Regions from separate parts of the Homo sapiens genome. Here region 1 is linked to region 2. The links are contacts of gene promoters, found by promoter capture Hi-C in human tissues and cell types (Jung and others, 2019). All regions are on one chromosome and are shown on one strand. Each heading gives the region's core, a stretch centred on a gene start or on the middle of the fragment in contact. The rest is flanking DNA. Distances are from core to core; before and after follow the strand shown. Region 1 overlaps RNF213 (ring finger protein 213). Region 2 holds the start of SGSH (N-sulfoglucosamine sulfohydrolase).

Region 1 (4,514 bases), core at 407-2,906, 160 kb after region 2:
TTGGAAGTCACGTGCCCACAGCCTCCAGGGCGCACCTGGCTAGTGTGCGTGAACCAGTGGCTGGAACAGGACAGCTATGACAGTTGAGCTGGGTTGACAGATTTGCTGTGTCTTGCTGATCTGCCAAGTCCATCAGCAGCGCCTTTTGATTTATGCCCATTACTTCCTTTGAGACCCTGCTGGAAAACAGTCTAAGAAAGATGCTGACACAACTATTAATAGCAAAATTCATACCTAGATGTATTCATAATTCAGATATGCATGTGTGTTTAATAAAAATACATATGTTGGTGTAGTGTGGGAAGTTAAAAAATATAAAGATGTTTTTAGAATCTAACCTTTAAATTGGTCTGGTCTTGCTTCCTTTTTGAGTCCCTGTGCCAGGAAAAGAGGAAATGGAAAATCCTCTTTCTGCTCAGAAGTTTCTAAGACCAGTGAAGGAGTCAGAAGAACAGATGGTGATTCCGTTGCTTCTGTCATTAAGCTGGCTGCTAAATATGCGTTGAGTTTAATCTGAGAGTATTTCAGGAACTTTGTAGCCCAAAAGTTGCTCGCCAGAAGACTGCCCATGTGGGGCATGACCCCAGGTGTCCAGGCCTGGAAAAGGCTCCTTCCCTTTTGGTGGGTTGAGGGCTGAGGCATGTGAAAAGTTTCTTTTCACATGCAAACTTCGTGGGCCTCTGGCCCTTAGGTAGATCTGGCAGGCAGCGGTGCGGGGGCGTCTATCCTATAATCCTAGCACTTTGGGAGGCCGAGGCATGCAGATCACAAGGTCAGGAGTTTGAGACCAGCCTGGCAAACATGGTGAAACCCCGTGTCTACTAAAAGAAAAAAAAAAAGAATTAGCCGGACATGGTTGCGTGTGCCTGTAGTCCCAGCTACTCGGGAGGCTGAGTTAGAATCGCTTGAACCCGAGAGGCAGAGGTTGCAGTGAGCCGAGATCATGCCACTGCACTCCAGCCTGGGTGACAGAGCAAGACTCCATCTCAAAAAAAAAAGATGTGTTGAGCTTTTAAATTCTTACTTGATACCCTTGATTTTGCAGGCCTGCAAGACCCCCCAAAGCCAGCAGTCAGCCTACTTCCTGTTAACACTGTTTAGAGAGGTGGCTATTTTGTACAGATCCCACAATGCAAGCCTCCACCCCACGCCAGAGGTGAGTAACCGCCTGCAGGGCTGTGTTCAAAGTCTCAGTATTTGGAGGGATTTTATTGAATAGAATGAAAGTTATCAACACAAATCATACCATAATTTTTTTATCTAGGATAGAGGTTCTCAACCTTGTTATGTGGAGGAACACATAACCAAGCTGTTTAACCCAAAGCTTGTAGAATTATAATGAAAACTAAAGCCAAGAACATAAGATAATGTTTAACAGAATAGAATATCAAAATTAATGCTTACGTATGTGGATGCTGTGTTTGTATATGCACAATTCTCTTCTCTGAAAAATTTCCCCCTCAAATGGTGGTGATTTCTCCATATTTACCTTGATATTTGATGTGTATTTGGTGTCAGTGTATGTCTAAGAGCAATTCACACAATATTCTTTGATACATCTTAATGTTAAGTTTTTTTCCTGTCAGCAATGTGAAGCTGTGAGCAAATTCATTGGCGAATGCAAGATCCTTTCACCTCCTGATATCAGCCGTTTTGCAACATCGCTCGTGGACAATTCTGTGCCATTGTTGAGGGCGGGGCCTAGTGACAGCAACCTTGATGGAACGGTGACAGAAATGGCCATTCATGCTGCAGCCGTCCTTCTGTGTGGACAGAATGAACTCTTGGAGCCCCTAAAGAATCTGGCCTTCTCCCCAGCCACCATGGCGGTAAGAGTAGGCCACAATTCCATCGGCCTTCACTGGAACACCCCCCAGAGCTTGTCACTGTAGAGACCGAGCTGCAGCTGTGGGAACTCTTGAGCATCTTTATCTCCTCAGTTCTCTGCCTTTGTGTCACCTGATTCTTGAGCACACAAGATAGTGACAGACTTGCCTTGCCCTTTGTTATTTCACAGGAAGCTGTTCTGTTTTCTTCACAGACAGCTTGAGAAGTCCAGCAGAAGGAAAGCAGAGTTCCCTTTCTTCCTCTAGGCCTCCTGCTGAGCAGCAGCACCCAGGTGACAAGCTCACTTATCTAGAGCTGTCTCTGTCTTCTTGTTTTTCAGCATGCTTTTCTTCCAACCATGCCTGAAGACTTGCTGGCTCAAGCTCGGAGGTGGAAGGGTCTGGAGCGAGTCCACTGGTACAGTAAGTGTTGGGGTCTAGATGACCCCACACTCCTTTGAGCTTCAAAGGGTGTCCAGATGCTATGAAGCATTGGGTTCGACTTGGGGTCCACGTGGTTTGTGCCTCAGGGTCCAAAACCACCTGCATTCTACCGGTGGCGTCTGCAGAAGACGAATGGCTTGAAGGAGCTGGCACTCCGCCGGCTAGATGATCCAAACCATTTCATTTCTTTGTCGTGTGGAAAAGGCCCTCTGTGATGCACTTCTGTTCTCTGGAATATGCCATTTTGGGAGAAGGGAGGGACTGGGAACCACATCAGAGACGCATTCAAAGGCCCACCACAAAACAAAGTTTTTGACACAAAGCTCTTCTGAAATATATGAAATATAGAACCGGGAGACTGACTCATATAACCCATGACATGTAAATTTTGCTGTTGCCTGAGTAAATATTTTAAAACTAGTTTTTAAAGTTGTTATAAAATATGCTCATGACAAAAAAAAAAAAATCAAGGAAAATAGAAAGGTCTAGAATCCTGTCCACCTTGCCTCCAAAAGTACCCCTGGTATGGGCCTATATTCTAATTGCTCTTTACTTGATAAAATTAATAAAATTAGACTCAGACATTTTTCACTGACAACATACATTTATTAAGCTTCAGGCAGGTGTCATGTAACTTAACAAATTAGCGTGGGATGCTCTGGACAGTCATTCTCATATTGTGGTCAGGGCCAGAGAGTAGAGAGTTAGCTTTCCCTTTTCAATGTGGGTCATTGGGTGAAACCTCATTAGCCAATGTGTGTCCTGTTCTCTTCACAGCTTGTCCCAACGGCCATCCTTGCTCCGTGGGAGAGGTGAGTCTTGGTATTTAAGATAGGGTTTGAGGGGTGGCGTGCACTCCTGGGTTGGAGGAGGGGGATCGTGGGTCAGGAGAGTGAGGCTCTCGGCCTTCCAGGAGAGCACAGGCTCACCGAGGACTGCCCAGGGTGCTCTGAGCAGGGCAATGCCAATGGCGCTAAGGGTTTCTAGCCCAGGGCTTCTCAGACTCAGCACTGTGGACGTGGCTCTGCGGCGTGGGCTGTCCTGTGCACTGCAGGCTGTCTGGCAGTATGCCTGACCTCGAGTCCCTGGATGCCAGGAGCACCCACTCCTCCCAGTGTGACAGCTAAAACCAGACATTGACAAAGGTCCCCTAGGAAAGAAAATTGCTACTGGTTGGGAACTGCTGCTAGCCATTCTTTCTAGCCACTGCAGCATGGGGTCAGTGAGCCTTGTCTTGATAGAATGGCAAGGTGTTGCCTGGACCACAGGCTGCATTATTAGCCCTCAGAGGAGGTGTGGTCCAGATGCCAAAGGAAAAAGCCACGTGTAGGCTGTGCGCCATGGGGGAAGAACTGTTGATTATTCCTCTCTGGATTCCCAAGCATCTAGCCTAGAGCCCTCCATACACAGTATCTGTACTTGCTGAGCAAGAGGCTGGTGGGTTGAGCTGACACGTGGTAGTTAGTTATTAGTATTACTTACTTGGTTGAGATATGTCTGGCTCTCTTACCCAGGCTGGAGTGCAGAGTGACATGATCATAGCTCACTATAAACATTGAACTCCTGGGCTCAAGCGATCCTCCCGCCTCGGCCTCCCAAAGTGTTGGGATTATGAGCCACTGTGCCCAGCCTGATACACGTCATTTAATAATGTATATAAGAGATACGGAGGGAGAAAAACTGTTACATACACTTCATTTTTCTGAGCTTCAATCACTTCCTTGTCCATGAAATGAGGACGCTGAAATAGAGTCTATCCAAGAATGCTCCCAGCTCTGAAATTCTGTAACTGGTTTGGTGTGTTATCAGCCGTGACTCTCAGTATATTGTGGCACAATATCTGATTTTGAAAAATAAGCCTTTGGAAGTAGATTATGTGATTAGATTTTTTTAAATAAAAAAGTCCAAGCCAGGTGTGGTAGGTCACACCTGTAATCCCAGCACTTCAGGAGGCTGAGGCAGGTGGATTGCTAGATCCCAGGAGTTTGAGACTGGCCCGGGCAACATGTTGAAACCCCGTCTCTACAAAAAAACACAAAGCATCAGCAGGGCATGGTGGTGCATGCGTGCATGCGTGCATGCGTGTGGTCCCAGCTACTTGGGAGGCTAAGGTAGGAGGATTGCTTGAGCCTGGGGAGGTCAAGGCTGTAGTGAGCCGTGATGGTGCCACTGCACTCCAGCCTGGAGGACAGAGCGAGGCTCTGTCTCATAAAAATTGATATATGAAAAAGTCCAAATGAATAT
Region 2 (4,151 bases), core at 1,562-4,061:
GTAGGCACAATACCTGGTGGGTATATCAGCAAGCAGGCAGGGTGCCCAGGCAGGCCTGATACCCAGTGGGTATGTTGGCAGGTGAGCATGGTATGGAGGCTGGACTGATTGATAGATGGTGGGTATGTTGGCAGGTGAGCATGGTATGGAGGCTGGACTGATAGATGGTGGGTATAAGCAGGTAGGCATGGTACCCAGGCAGGCCTGATACCAGTGGGTATGTTAGCAGGTAGACTGGTATCCAGCAGGGATGATGCGTGGTTGGTATGTTAGCAGGCAGGCATGGTATCCAAGTGGGCATGATAAGCAGGCATCATACCACAATAAGCTTGATGATACCCTAAGCAGGCATGATACCCGGTGGGTATGTTGGCAGGTGGGCATGGTACACAGGCTGGACTGATAGCTGGTGGGTATAAGCAGATGGGCATGGTACCCAGGCAAGCCTGGTACCTGCATAGGCATGTTAGCAGGCAGGCATGGTACCCAAGTGGGCAAGATACTCATGCAGGCATGATGACCCAACAAGCTTGATGATACCCCAGCAGGCATGCTACCTGGGTGGGCGTGTTAGCCGGCTAGGCATTTAGGCAGACAGCGGCTGAGCGCATGGCCACAGAACTGCTGGGCAATTCTGGGCTCAGCGGAAACCGCATGGGGCAGAGGGCAGGAGAGCCTCGCCCAGGGCGCGTCTAAAGCTCTATGTGTGTGCGTCCCACCGCTGCTTCTCACTGATGCCATCTCAAAGGCCTAGTGACCTTGCAGGTTGTCTATTTCAACCCTTTCATCCTACACAAAGCAGCTGAGGCCCAGAAAGGTGAGGTGCAGTGCCCAGGGCCACACACTGGGCAGCAGGAAACAGGGACAGGCCGCTGAACTCCTACAACCACACCAAGCTTCTTCCCCCTGCTCTGGAGTAGAGGACACTGGGGGCACCACAGGAGAGGCTGGTGGGAACCCCCAGACCAACACTTTCCCCAGCTCCCTCAGAGGCAATGTGGTCCATGGATGGACAGAGGAGGCTGGGCACCTTCCAGTTGGGCTTCCATCCTCCACCCCACAGTACCCACAGGTGTGAGCACATGGCAGCCACGTAAACCTGGAGGGAGAGCGGGATGGGCTGTGCTCCGTACCCGCAGGCCAGGAAGAAAGCTGCCCTTCTCCAAACCCAGAGTGTCTCGGCACTTGGCTGTGGGCCTGCTATGGTCTGAACTGTGTCCTCCCAGAATTCATATGCTGAAGCCCTAACGTCAACATCACTGTATCTGGAGACAGGGTCCTTAATTAAGGGTAAATGAATCATAAGGATGAGATCCTGATCTGACAGGACTGTGGACTTAAAGGAAAAGAAAGAGAGGGCCGGGTGCAGTGTTTCATGCCCGTAAGCCCAGCACCCGGGAGGCCAAGGCAGGAAGATTGCTTGAGCCCAGGAGTTCGAGACCAGTCTGGGCAACACAGTGAGACCTTGTCTCTACAAAAAATACAAAAATTAGCCAGGCATGGTGATGTGCACTTGAGGTCCCAGCTACTTGGGAGGCTGAGGCAGGAGGATCGCTTGAGCCTGGGAGATTGAGGCTGCAGTGAGCTGTGATTGTGCTACTGTGCTCCAGCCTGGGTGACAGAGTGAGACCCTGTCTCACAAAAAAAAAAAAAAAAAAAAAAAAAGGAAAGAAAGGAAAAAGAAAGGAAAAGGAAGTGAGACCACCCCCATCCGCTTGTCATGTGAGGAAACAGTGAGAGGGTGACCACCTGTAAGCCGAAAGTGGACCCTCACTGGAACCCAACCAAGCTGGCACCCTGACCTTGGATTTTCAGCCCACAGAACTGTGAGAAATACATTTCTGTTTAAGCCGATCCATGGCAGTCCGTGCTAAGAAAGGCCCTAGCCCAGGGGCCGCATAGCCTGGACTCTGACAGCCTCCTGTAGGAATTCTGATCCGCAGGTGAGGGTCCATGCAGATTCTCTGCTGTGTTTCTGGGAGGCGAGGAGTTGGCAGGAGAGCTGTTTATGTTACAGTGAGCCGAACCCCCGCCCAGAGACCACAAAATTAATCAGAAAGAGGGCAACTGGCAGGGCGCCAGACCTCAGAAGGGGAAAGAATCGCAGGCCTTGGGTTTGGCCTTGTCACTTGTCATGAGCCAGAGCCTTGATTACCTAAACCGGAAGTCTTGTGAGCAGCACGGTGCTTGCTCTGGAGGAACCTGGGGTTTCTGAGAGGGACTGGGGTTGGGGGAGACGGTGGTGGGTGGGTGGTGGAGGGCTGTGCCCTTGGGATAAGGGAAAAGACAGCTGAGACACAGGCTCTGGGGTCGGAAATGAGAGCCAGGAGGGCACCCTGTCTGCAGTCTCTGGGGACCGGAGCACCAGCCCCTCCTCTGGGATCCCCTCCCAAGAGGGATTTGAGATCCGTGGACCCCTGAGCCCTGGCTGGGCAGGGTCAGAGGAGGGTGGGACAGGCGGCACGAGGTAAGTGTAGGGGTGCTGGATGCTGGGGCTCACTCCTCCAGCCTTTGCTGCCCTCTCTGGGGAGACACCCGTGAAGAGTCTGGGGGCGGCACAGAGAGGAGGACGAGAGGGAATGGCAGCGGGGGATACAAGGGCAGGGCACACTAGGGTCAGCATTGACCACGGGTGGGGAGGAGGCCAGTGGCCACTTCCCCGGGCCACCGCAGGTGGGCGTGGGGGGGCGGCGCCGGCACTCACCGAGGAGCAGCAGTGCGTTCCGGGGACGCGCCCGGCAGAGCCCCAGGACTAGCAGCAGCGCGCAGCAGGCGGGCACGGGGCAGCTCATGGCGGCGGCGGCTCGGACTCGGGATCGGGATCCGGCTCCGGCTCTCTGGTCTCCCGCTCGGCCCCGCCCCCTGCCCCGACCCCGGTCACGTGCGCGCCAGACCCCGCCCCGGCCTGTCCCCGGCGATTCCTGCGGACCCAGCTGCGGCGACGCCAGGAGACCCCAAGCTGCATCGCCGAGTGGGTGAGTCCGTGGCCCGCGAGGGCGGCGAGCGGGGACCAGGGGCAGGGGGAGCGGACAGTGGCCGGGGTCGCCGGGGGCAGCCGACGCGGGGGCCAGCGCGGAGTCCTGAAGTGCGGGGGCCTCCCGTGGGGACCACTCCCCCGCCGCGTCCCTACCCGGGTCCCCGCGGCCCTCGGCCTTGCTCGGGGCCAAGGGACCGCGGACGGTCAGGTGGCGCAGGGTCTCCTCCGGAGACCCCAGGATCCGGAGCCAGCGGCCTTGTGGGCGGGGCCGGGGGCCGGGGAGTGGATTTTGCCCGGAGCGGAGCGGCCGGGGGCGTGGGGGGCTGGGGGTGAGGGTGGCGGCTCTGCGCGCGGGCGCCGGGGCCCTGGAAGATGCTGCGCACCTGAATTAACCGGGCGCCTCTGATGTCCTCCCAGAAGCAACTAGAACTCCAGGGCTGTGAAAGCCACAGGTGGGGGCTGAGCGAGGCGTGGCCTCAGGAGCGGAGGACCCCCCCACTCTCCCTCGAGCGCCGCAGTCCACCGTAGCGGGTGGAGCCCGCCTTGGTGCGCAGTTGGAAAACCTCGGAGCCCCGCTGGATCTCCTGGCTGCCACCCGCACCCCCCGCCAGCCTACGGTGCGCCCGCGGGCCCAGCTTCTCTCTGCGCTGCTCCCCGTTAAATTCCCTGGGGAGACGGAAAAAAAGGCAAAGGAAGTCGGTTCTCCAGGGGCCAGAAGTGTTGAGCCTAATTAGTCTTCAGACTTCTCAATGAGGAATCGCTTATCAGTTTCTTATCTGGGAGAGTTGAGGATGGAGGGACAGAAGGCACCCAGGATTTGCACGGGGGGGATTCAGGGAGAGAGGGTGATGAGGGACGGGGTGGGCCTTCCAGTCTTGGCCCAGTCCCCATCTTGCACACATTGTTGGCTTCCTCTTAGAGCCGTTCGCCCCCCTGGGGAGGGGAGACCCATAGTGACCTCTCCTGACACCCGCCGACCCTGACCAGTGTTGCCGGGTTCTTCAAAGGCCACGCTCTGACTGCTGGTCTGTGTCACCTGCACCCCCCAGCCCCACCGTAGAGATGCCTTCTTCGGTGACGGCGCTGGGTCAGGCCAGGTCCTCTGGCCCCGGGATGGCCCCGAGCGCCTGCTGCTGCTCCCCTGCGGCCCTGCAGAGGAGGCTGCCCATCCTGG

What was found. The method cuts DNA at HindIII sites, captures the fragments that hold promoters and counts their contacts. A contact is called where the count stands out against the background at its distance.
Region 1: a fragment that was not itself captured here is called in contact with the fragment with the promoter of SGSH in region 2 in 1 of the 25 tissues and cell types used here (H1 embryonic stem cells).

Annotation. Positions count from the first base shown.
Region 1 is chr17:80,374,715-80,379,228 of GRCh38, forward strand. RNF213 (ring finger protein 213) reads left to right here. Exons shown (of 68, transcript NM_001256071.3): 51 at 1,046-1,156; 52 at 1,587-1,829; 53 at 2,168-2,249; 54 at 3,048-3,082. All of the region lies in intron 1 of RNF213-AS1 (RNF213 antisense RNA 1), which reads right to left. Among named protein-coding and RNA genes, the nearest start is that of ENDOV, 38 kb to the right of the region's middle. RefSeq lists a silencer at 1,842-2,042. The HindIII fragment of the contact is 4,243 bases long and covers 1-3,778 here.
Region 2 is chr17:80,217,522-80,221,672 of GRCh38, forward strand. It overlaps SGSH (N-sulfoglucosamine sulfohydrolase), which reads right to left and starts at 2,812. Exons shown (of 8, transcript NM_000199.5): 1 at 2,705-2,812. The coding sequence starts at 2,792. It overlaps SLC26A11 (solute carrier family 26 member 11), which reads left to right and starts at 2,906. Exons shown (of 18, transcript NM_001166347.2): 1 at 2,906-2,975; 2 at 3,395-3,594; 3 at 4,027-4,151. The coding sequence starts at 4,040. RefSeq lists an enhancer at 1,854-1,973 and silencers at 2,774-3,043, 3,064-3,133. The HindIII fragment of the contact is 8,333 bases long and covers 713-4,151 here.